Linked DNA regions of Homo sapiens: all the other regions are linked to region 3. Evidence: promoter capture Hi-C in 16 types of primary human blood cells and fetal thymus (Javierre and others, 2016). All regions are on one chromosome and are shown on one strand. Each heading gives the region's core, a stretch centred on a gene start or on the middle of the fragment in contact. The rest is flanking DNA. Distances are from core to core; before and after follow the strand shown. Region 1 has its middle 5.5 kb from the start of LINC00028. Region 2 holds the start of DEFB116 (defensin beta 116). Region 3 holds the start of DEFB119 (defensin beta 119).

What was found. Contacts are between HindIII fragments. The CHiCAGO score rates a contact against its expected background, and 5 or more counts as called.
Region 1: a contact is called between a fragment that was not itself captured here and the fragment with the promoter of DEFB119 in region 3, in 1 of 17 cell types (M1 macrophages). The highest score is 6.2, in M1 macrophages.
Region 2: a contact is called between the fragment with the promoter of DEFB116 here and the fragment with the promoter of DEFB119 in region 3, in 1 of 17 cell types (M1 macrophages). The highest score is 5.3, in M1 macrophages.

The regions. Positions count from the first base shown.
Region 1 is chr20:31,489,548-31,493,072 of GRCh38, reverse strand. No RefSeq gene overlaps it. Among named protein-coding and RNA genes, the nearest start is that of LINC00028, 5.5 kb to the right of the region's middle. The HindIII fragment of the contact is 4,898 bases long and covers 1-3,525 here.
Region 2 is chr20:31,307,134-31,310,784 of GRCh38, reverse strand. It overlaps DEFB116 (defensin beta 116), which reads left to right and starts at 2,200. Exons shown (of 2, transcript NM_001037731.1): 1 at 2,200-2,266. The coding sequence starts at 2,200. The HindIII fragment of the contact is 2,687 bases long and covers 359-3,045 here.
Region 3 is chr20:31,388,856-31,392,621 of GRCh38, reverse strand. It overlaps DEFB119 (defensin beta 119), which reads left to right and starts at 2,032. Exons shown (of 2, transcript NM_153289.4): 1 at 2,032-2,199. The coding sequence starts at 2,139. The HindIII fragment of the contact is 16,203 bases long and covers 1-3,766 here.

The DNA of each region.
Region 1 (3,525 bases), core at 862-3,361, 100 kb before region 3:
CTTCTCCCTCGTTCATAGAAGCCGTCTTGTTTGGGGTAGCAAGAGGCAAAGGGAAATTTCTGGTAGAACAATTTCCTGCTTGATAAAAATAAAACCTATTCTGAACTTTTCCCTTTTATTTTATTTTATTTTTTTTTAGAGACAGGGTCTTCCTCTGTCGCCCAGGCTGGAGTGCAGTGGTGCGATCACGGCTCACTGTAACCTTGACCTCGAGGGCTCAGGGGATCCTCCCACCTCAGCCTCCCAAGTAGCTGGGACTACAGGTGTGGCCACTACATCTGGCTAATTCTTGTAATTTTTGTAGAGATGGGGTTTCACTGTGCTGCCCAGGCTGGTCTTGAATTCCTGGGGTCAAGAGATCCACTGGTGTTGGCCTCTCAAAGTGAACGGATCACAGACAAGAGCCACTGTACCCGTCCCAAGCTGTTTTTTTTGTTTGTTTGTTTTGTTTTTTTTTTGTTTTTTTTTTTGATGGAGTCTCGCTCTGTTGCCCAGGCTGGAGTGCAGTGGCACAATCTCAACTTACTGCAACCTCTGCCTCCCGAGTTCAAGCAATTCTCCTGCCTCAGCTTCCTGAGTAGCTGGGATTACAGGCGCCTGCCACCATGCCTGGCTAATTTTTTGTATTTTTAGTAGAGACTGAGTTTCACCATGCTGGCCAGGCCGGTCTCGAACTCCTGACCTGAAGTGGTCCACCCACGTCGGCCTCCCAAAGTGCTGGGATTACAGGTGTGAACCACCGTGCCCAGGCACCAGGGTTTAAAAAAAAAATCACAATTAGGCCAGGCGTGGTGGCTCATGCCTGTAATCCCAGCACTTTGGGAGGCTGAGGCGGGTGGATCACGAGGTCAGGAGATTGAGACCATCCTGGCTAACACGGTGAAACCCCGTCTCTACTAAAAATACAAAAAAAAAAAAAAATAGCCGGGCGTGGTGGCGGGTGCCTGTAGTCCCAGCTGCTTGGGAGGCTGAGACAGGAGAATGGTGTGAACCCGGGAGGCAGAGCTTGCAGTGAGTCGAGATCACGCCACTGCACTACAGCCTGGGCAACAGAGTGAGACACAGTCTCAAAAAAAAAAAAAAAATAGCCGGGCACGGTGGCAGGTGTCTGTAATCTCAGCTACTCGGGAGGCTGAGGCAGGAGAATCTCTTGAATCCGGGGGGCAGAGGTTGCAGTGAGCCAAGATCGCGCCACTGTACTCCAGCCTGGGTGACAGAGTGAGACTCCATCTCAAAAAACAAACAAACAAAAAAACACAAAATGACAATCAGCAATAATTATTTAAGAATTAGGGCTGGGTGGCCAGGCGCGGTGGCTCATGCCTGTAATCCCAGCACTTTGGGAGGCCGAGGTGAGCAGATCACCTGAGGTCGGGAGTTCGAGACCAGCCTGATCAACATGGAGAAACCCCATCTCTAATAAAAATACAAAAAATTAGCTGGGTGTGGTGGTGCATGCTTGTAGTTCCAGCTACTCGGGAGGCTGAGGTAGGAAAATCGCTTGAACCTGGGAGGTGGAGGTTGCTGTAAGCTGAGATCGCACCATTGCACTCCAGCCTGGGCAACAAGAGCGAATCTCCATCTCAAAAAAAAAAAATAAAAAAGAATTAGGGCTGGGTGAAGTGGCTCACACTTGTAATCCCAGCACTTTGGGAAGCCAAGACGGGAGGATCATTTGAGTCCAGGAGTTTGAAGCCAGCCCGAGCAACATAGAGAGACCCTGACTGTACAAAAAAAGAAAAAAAAAATTAGCTATGCCTGGTGGTGCATGCCTGTGGCCCAGCTACTTGGAGGCTGAGGCAGGAGGATCCCCTGAGCCTGGGAGGTTGAGGCTGCAGTGAGCTGTGATCGCACCACTGCACTCTAGCCTGGGGCAATAGAGTGAGACCCTGCCTCAAAACAAAAGGATTGGGATACTTCACATAAAGATCTGGCTCTCTGCCTTTCTTAGAAAAACTGACATGCGGTATCTGGCAACACTGGGTTCATATTCCAACAGTAGTCACAGGCAGCTTAGTTCGTATCCTCCTTTTAGGCAAGGCAGCTGATTCCAGTTTGCCATAGACTTGATGCTGCCTAATGTCCTCTACCCAGTTGACTTCACTGACTTATATTATTGGTCTGACTCTGTGAGCATTTGAGTTAGTGAATCCTGGTTTCAGTTTTGGAATTAATGTGTGTGCATGTGTATGTGTGTATGTAAGACTCAAAAATTGCTTTCCAGACAATCTTTTTTTTTTTGGAAACATTGTCTTGCTCTGTTGCTCAGGCTGGAGTGCAGTGGTGCAATCTTGGCTTATTGCAACCTCCGCTTCCTTGGTTCAAGGGATTCTCCTGCCTCAGCCTCCCAAGTAGCTAGGATTACAGGCCCGCACCACCGTGTCTCGCTATTTTTTTTTTTTTTTGTATTTTTAGTAGAGACAGGATTTCACCATGTTGGCCAGGCAGGTCTTGAACTCCTGACCTGAGGTGATCTGCCCACTTTGGCCTCCCAAAGTTTCATTCCAGACAATTCTGTGAAAAGGCATCTATCCTCATTCACAGAGTTGGGTAGACCCTGAAGTGGACTGGATTTGGAATGGTCACACTCACTCTGGACTGTTTTGTAAGACTGGAAAAGCTAAGAGCATGCACCCTTGACTGCCTGACTAGAGCACTTGGGGTGTTAACCCAGCTCTAGCTTTTCTTCTTGGTGTGGTCATGTTGTACTTTATGCAAACCCTGATTAACCTAAGCCACTGATTAGTTTGAAGGTGGCCATGTAACCAGATTCTGGCCAGTGAGAACTGGAAGAGTTTCCTTGCTGATGAAAGGGACATGCTGAGGAAGAGACAACCTTTTTGCTTTGCCTGGACCTTGTCATGTCCACGTTTCATGCCTGAAACTGGGGTGGCCATATTGGGACCCTAAGGGTAGCTATCCCAGGGCAAGCTGAGACCCAGAAGATGGCAGAGTGGAAAGATGGAAAGAGGAACTCTCATATTTGTGCTCAAAGAGGCACATGCAATGTTCATAGTGCATTATTTATAGCAGAAAAAAAGCCCATCAAGAGGAAGAAAAGATAAATAAATCTTATATGTTCATACAGTGGAATACTGTGCAGTGATGAAAAAGAATAGTTACAGATTTCAACACAAGGAATCTCATAAATATAATGTTGAATGTGAAAAATAATAAAGCTGAAGGATACATATAGTATGATGTTTAAAAGCATCCAATACTTTGCCTTAGCAAAATATATCTGTGGGAAAAAGTATAAAGTAATGCATGGAAATGCATTACAATTTATTGAGTGCTTACTGAGTGCAAAGCATCATGCTAACAAATAGCCAACCTGATTGAATTCTCACATCGACCCTTAGTGAGAAATACTATTTTTTTTTTTGTTTTTGAGACAGAGTCTTGGTCTGTCGCCCAGGCTGGAGTGCAGGGGCATGATCTCGGCTCACTGCAACCTCTGCCTCCAGGATTCAAGTGATTCCCCTGCCTCAGCCTCCTGAGCAGCTGGGAACACAGGCACGTGCC
Region 2 (3,651 bases), core at 951-3,450, 82 kb after region 3:
AAGACCTCTGATGAAGATGTAAAAGGAGATTAACGTTGGTTTTATGCTGGCTAACACAATAATCACTTACAGCCCATGGATCAAGGAATAATTTTGACTTTCGGGTCTTATTATTTAAGAAATGCATTTCATAAGGCTATGGCTGCCATAGATACTGATTTCTCAAGACCAATTAGCCAAGACTCATTATACTCAAGCTATCAAAAATCAGGGAGAAAAAAATTCTGAAAAAAGCAAGAGAAAAGAAGCATATCGCATACAAGAAAGACTCAATACAGCTGTCAGTCAATTTCTCCACTGAAGCCTCACAGGTCAGGAGAGTGAGATGATATATTCAAAATGCTGAAGGAAAAAAGCTTCCAAACAAAAGTATTTTACTGAGCAAGTCCTTGCTTCTGAAATGAAGAAAAGATAAAGACTTTCACAGACAAACAAAATCTGAGAGAGTTCATTTCTACCAGGCCAGTCTATCAAGGAATGCTAAAGAAAATATTTCAAGCTGAAAGGAAAGGATGTTAATAACTAAAATGAAAACAGGTGCAAGTATGAAACTCACTGGTAAAAGTAAGTACACAGTTAAATTCAGAATACTCTAATACTGTAAAGATGATAAGTCACTAATATATTGAGTATAAAACAAAATACAAAACTATTAATAATAAGTTACAATAATCTGATAAGGGATACACACAATATAAACAGTAAATTGTGACATCAGAAACATAAATTATCAGGAGAGATACAATAAAAATGTAGAATCATATTTTGCAACCAAAGTTAAGTGGTTATCAGCTTTAAACAGCCGGTTATAACAACATATGTTTTGTGTAACCCTTATAGTAATCACAAAGCAAAAACTGACAGTAGATACACAAAGGATAAGAAGAAAGGAATCAAAGCATTCTAATATAGAAAATAATCTAATCACAAAGGAAGATAGCAAAAGAGGAAGAAAGGAACAAAGGATGTATAAAATAACCAGAAAAGAATGAACAAAATGGCAAAAGTAAATCCTTACCTATCAATACTTACTTTGAATGTAAATGGATTCAGTTTGCCAATTGAAGGAGTGGCTGAATTGATTTTTTTAAATGACTCAACTGTATTTTGCTTACAAGAGACTCATTTCAGTTTTAAGGAAACACATAGGCTGAAAGTTAAGTGATGGAAAAAGATGTTCCATGGAAAAAGAAACCAGAAAAGAGCAGGAACAGCTTTTCTTACAACAGAAAAAATAGACTTTAGGTAAAAAACCACAAAGTGAGACAAAGAAGGTCATTATATAATAATAAAGGGATCAATTAATTGAGAGATCAGCATGTCCATCACCTCAAATATTTATTATTTATTTGTGATGAGGTCATTTAAAAATCTTTCTTTTAGCTCTTTACATTATTATTAACTATAGATACTGGAGTACTATTCAGCCTTTAAAAAACAGAAAATTCTGTTATTTGCAATCATATGAATGAACCTAGAAGACACTATGTGAAGTGAAATAAAGCAGGCACAGAGAGACACATACCATATGATCTCACTTAGATGTGGAATCTAAAAAAATTGAACTCATAGACGTAGAGATTAGCATGGTTGTTACCAGAGCCTCGAGGGAGGGTGGATGGGGAAAGGGGAGACATTGGTCAATGGGTACAAACTTTCGGTTAGATAGGAGGAATAAGTTCTGGTGTTCTGTGGGCACAGCATGGTGACTACAGTTAAAAATAATTATTTATTTCTTTTTTTACAATTATACTTTAAGTGCTGGGGTACATGTGCAGAACGTGCAGGTTTGTTACATAGGTATACACGTGCCTCACATAGGTATACACGTGCTTATTTCTTATCTAATTGTTTATAAGTTTTTTCAAGTTTGCTTGCTTGCTTGGTTGATTCATTCATTCAAATTCGTTTCACACAAAATGCCAACTGGCTCTAATTTGTCTTTATTTCTTAATGGGAAGAAAGGCCCACACAGACATGAGCACTGCTGGCAAGTCTCCCACGCTTACACAGAGTATCCAGCTCAGATAAGTGATACATGTTGTCCTTCTTCCTGCCTGACATCAGGTATCTCCCATCCCTTTTAGTTCACTGCACAGAACCCTGACGCATTTCCAAAACTAATAAAGGCGGGCTACTGCTCTGCTACAGTGATCTCTGTTTGGTCACCTGCAACACAGCCCTTCATTCTGGTGGAACATGTCAGTCATGAAGCCCTGTTTAATGACCATTGCCATCCTTATGATCCTGGCTCAAAAGACTCCAGGTAACTCAGGCCTCTCTCAAAGGTTCTGGCGTCTTGCATGTGGTACTGGTATCTTGGTGACCTCTGCAGTGACTCCTACTCACATATAGTGGGCAACACCTAAAGCCTTTTCTGGTCTCAGGTGGGTCACAGATGTTATTCCCAAGGTTAATTTCATGTAAAGATCTCCCCTGGTTCTGCTCTGCCAAGACAAATTGAAGAGGTTGTTGATCCTGGCATAGTGGACAGTCTAAGCATGGAACATTTTAGGTAGTGCTGTCATTGGGATGGGGGCTTAATTCATGAGTTAGGTGTGAGAGACTGTGTGCAAGTTGAGGAGCTATAGGAGGGGTATAGCAGTTTGGAGTTGGGTAGGGAGTTGAGGTGGGGAGGTTGTAAGACCTTAGAGATAGGGTAATATCCAAAAAGTGAGTGGGGATGAGCATGGGGTGAATAATTGTATTTATAGGTTGGGCTGAATAGATGTTTTGGTGCATTCTAGAGAGGAAATGGTATTTTTTCTTGAATGGAGCTGGGGTAGAGTTGGTGCAACTGGGAGTTGGGGTATAGAGAGGTTTGTAGCTGGGTTGTGTTTTAGATTGATGCTGTGAATGGGGTTGGGTGGCTTGGATAGTGTTATGTTTGTATGTTTTGCAGTTGGGCTTTTGGTGGTTATTAGAAGAGGTAGGGCTTGAGTTGTAGTTAGTGTTTGCCTAAAGTGGGTATCTTATTCAGTCATGGGTATGTGAGGTTTATCTGGGCAGGGATTGACTTAGCCTGGGTTTGGGGGTGATTAAGCTTGAGTAAGACAGTTGAATTCATCACAGCAGGGTTGTGGCTATTGAAATAAGGAGAATATTGACTCCTTCTCAGATATATGATTTGCAAATATTTTCTCCCATTCCATAGGTTGTTTCTTCATTTTGTAGACTGTTTCCTTTGCTGTGCAGAAACTTTCTAGATTGCTGCAATCCCCTTGTTTATTTTTGCTTTTGTTGCCTGTGCTTTGGTGTCATATCCAGAAAATCCTTCCCAAGGCCAACGTCAAGAAGCTTTTTCTCTATGTTTTCTCCTAGGAGTTTTATAGTTTCAGGTCTTAGATTTAAGTCTTTAATCCATTTTGAATTTGTTTTTGTGTATGGTGTAAGATAAATATCCAATTTTATTATTTTGCATCTAGATACCTAGTTTTCCCAATACATTTATTGAAGAGACTATACTGTCATGAATATGTCCTAGAAATCTACTGTACAACACAGTTCCTATAGTTAACGGTACTGTGTTGGATATTTCAAAAATTACCAAGGGAGTGGATTTTATGTTAAGTGTTCTTAAAATAAGATTTGATGTACCAAAAATAATAAATAAGATGGTGGGAGAAAACTTTTAGGCGTGGATAGGTTTAT
Region 3 (3,766 bases), core at 783-3,282:
AACTCCACCCCCCATGTATCTCTTTCCCTTCTTAATAAGACAACCCCTATATTTTAGCTAGAAATGGTTGCCTAGAATAAGGAAAATATTTCCAGCCTCCCTTGCAGCTGCGCATGATGGTCTAAATGAGCTCTGGGAGGTGGACAGGATTGGAAGCAAAGGGTGCAACTTATTATTCTTATTTTTTGGAGGGACGGTGTCTCACCCTGTTGCCTAGGCTGGAGTGCAGTGGTACGATCTCAGCTCACTGCAACTTCCACCTCCTGGGTTCAAGCCATTCTCCTGCCTCAGGCTCCTGAGTAGCTGGGATTACGGTGCTCACCACCACGTCTGGCTAATTTTTTTTTTTTTTTTTGTATTTTTAGTAGAGACGAGGTTTCATCAGTTTGGCCAGGCTGGTCTTGAACTCCTACCTCAAATGATCCACCGACCTTGGCCTCCCAATGTGCTGGGATCACAGGTGTGAGCCACTGTGCCAAGCCGAGGGGTGAAACTTCTGAGTGGTGTCCTTAAAGGGAAAGGTGTTGCATTTCACTTCCATCACTCCTCCTTTCCTGATGGCTGGATGGGAACTTGACGGTGGGAACTGGAGCAGCTCAGGGTCATCACATGATGCAGCCTCTTGAGGATGGCAGAGCATCAAGCCAAAAGGAACCTAGATCCCTGCTGAATGGTGAAGCTGTCACACTTAACTGCATACCCAGACTTTTACATAAAAAAGAAATCCATGTCTGTCTTTTGGAATCATTCTTATTTGGGGGGAATATCAGTTAAAACAGTTGAATAAGTATCTTAATACACCAGGTGATGTTATGGGTACTGGGGTTATAAGCCAGGTTTCTGACATTCTAAGTGGAGAGACAAAAATCAAACATGTAAAATAAAATTTAAAAGAATAGATACATATATGAAGATCATAAACCAAGTTATTACAGTCCAGAGTGACTGTGGGTTGGAGTTACCGTTATCTAAGGTGGCCAGGGAAAGTCTCTCCAAGGAGGTGACATTTGGGATGATATGGAATGATGAGCAGGAGATTTTCATGGGAAGATTTGGAGAAAGAGCTTTACAGGGAGAACAGATGACAACTGCTAAGGCCCTGAACTGGAAACAAGATTGGCAAGTTCAAAGTTCTGAAAGACATTACACATGTGTATCCTTCTGTTAGAAAGCTGAGACACATGTGTATCCTTCTGTTAGAAAGCTGAGAATAAGTAATTCTCGTTTAATTTATTTTTTAAAATTTTTTTATTTTTATTTTCGAGATGGAGTTTTGCTCTGTCACCTAGGCTGGAGTGCAATAGCGTGATCTCAGCTCACTGCAACCTCTGCCTCCCAGGTTCAAGCAATTCTCCTGCCTCAACCTCCCTAGTAGCTGGGATTACAGGCACCTGGCTAATTTTTGTATTTTTAGTAGAGACGGGGTTTCACCATGTTGGCCAGGCTGGTCTCGAACTCCTGACCTTGTGATCTCCCTGTCTTCGCCTCCCAAAGTGCTGGGATTACAGGTGTGAGCCACCACACCTGGCCTGTTTAATTTAGTTTTTAAGATTTAAATATCTTTTAAACATTTATAGGAAAAAATATATTTTAAAACAGAACATAATCATGGAGAACAATATTGTCACCAAACATGACAAGACAGTTAATATAATAACAGCACTGAAGAGCTCTTGCAAATCAGCAAGTACCCAACAACACCCCAATAGAATTGTCCAGATATCTGACTAAATAATTCAAAAGGAAGAAACAAAGAGACAAATACATGTGTTGAATAAATGTTCTTACTATTTATCAGAGAAGTGCAAAGTAATTTTTAAGTTAAATATTTCTTGATATGTATTTATTATGCATTAATTAATTCCTTTGTGGGTCTCACAGGCCAAATGGCTTTAATTGACCTGTCCCTTTACTGGCATTGGTACTGGCCAGTTTCCCACACTCTCATCTTGTGCTTTGCTGAGACATCTGCTACACACTGTCCTTTGGCCTGGATGACCTCATATAAATCCCCTCCTGTTCTAATTCACTGCCCACAGCCCTGCTGATAAAAGCAAAGCTCATCTCTGCCGTGCTGCAGGGAACCCTATTTCCTTCCCCTGCAGCTCAGCCACCTCCTCCTCTCAGGTCTGCCAGCCATGAAACTTCTTTACCTGTTTCTTGCCATCCTTCTGGCCATAGAAGAACCAGTGATATCAGGTAACGTGAACCTCTCTCGGGGGTCTGGGTTCCTGGTCATGGGCTTCCCGTCTTTCCCTTCCCTCTCACTGTGGGCATCATCTGAAGCCTTTCCTTCTCTCCTGCAGCTTCGGGAGGTTTGCCCAGGATCATCTCAAGTTAATATCTCTCTCTGATTCTTTTTTGCCAGAGTGGTGGGATGATAGATGTTTGGAGCATCTGGTGCTTGAGGGCCAGGGTGGTATCCTGGTGGGAGCTTGGGAGAGGTTTGAGGGGCAAAGCGTGGGTGCAGGTTGGGGACTTGTTGAGGACTTCGGGAGACTAGAGTGGAAGCTGGGGTGAGTTGTGATGTGGAGGAAAAACCTTGGGATTGGAGTGATAGAAGGAATATTAGGATGAGCTGGAGGTGAGGAGCTGGGCTTCCCTGATGGTTTAGGGCAGAGTTGGAGACAGGATGGGATTTGGGGTTGAGTGGAGCTGGTGTTGAGGATTAGGCTGGGGCTTGGGCTGAGGCTGGGAGTCGGTGCTGGATGCTGCAGGGTGATTGGGTTCAGCTTGGTCATGGCATACTGCTGGGAATTGAGGTTAGTGACTTGATTAGATTAGGGTTAGATTAGATTAGATTAGGGTTTGGCTTGGAGTTGGGGCTTGGGGGCATTGAGTTGAGTAAGGCTGGGAGTTCTAATTAAGGCAGGCCTGAATGAGTTTGAGTTTGAATTGGGTTAATATAGGGTCAAGGAAGATTGCAGATTGGGATGCGGCTGGAGCTGAGGCTTGTTGGGCTTATGTGAAATAGGGTCAGGTTATTGATAAGAAACAGGGTCTGTGTAATGTGAGTGAATCCTCTTCGTTCCCTAATATTACAGGTGATCATGTCCTTTTCCCTTCATCCCTAGCTCTGCTAGGTGGGACATTAATTAGCTTCAGTTGATTCCAAAGTAAGGAGTAGGAAGTTGGGGGCTAGGAAGACAGAAGGGTGAGAAGTCCAAAAAAGGCTCTCCCAAAAACTTCGGAGCTCTCAGTTGGAACCATTGTCTCAGTTCTCTTCCCTCTCAAGGTCTCTTCTCTCTTTTCCTGGGACTGGGTCTGGCATTACTCACTCAGCTGGCTTTCTTCTCTTCTTCCCTGTCCTCCTGTTCCTCCTCTGCCTTGTCTTTTCTCTCCGCTTGAGGGATACTAACATCTGCTTAATTGTTGTTCATATGCCCCAAAGTAGAGTGTTGGATGGATGGACACTGCCGGTTGTTGTGCAAAGATGGTGAAGACAGCATCATACGCTGCCGAAATCGTAAACGGTGCTGTGTTCCTAGTCGTTATTTAACAATCCAACCAGTAACAATTCATGGAATCCTTGGCTGGACCACTCCTCAGATGTCCACAACAGCTCCAAAAATGAAGACAAATATAACTAATAGATAGAAATGACTTTGTTTCAGGTTGCTTAGGGTCCACATTTCATTAAAACTCACAAATTTGTTTCTGGTGTCTGTCAATCATAAGGAATGATACTTCAAATGGATTGAGGGTGGGGGGATGGCAGGGGGAGGTGAAGAGCTAGTCGAGAGAAGTCACTAGGGCTGGGTCATAG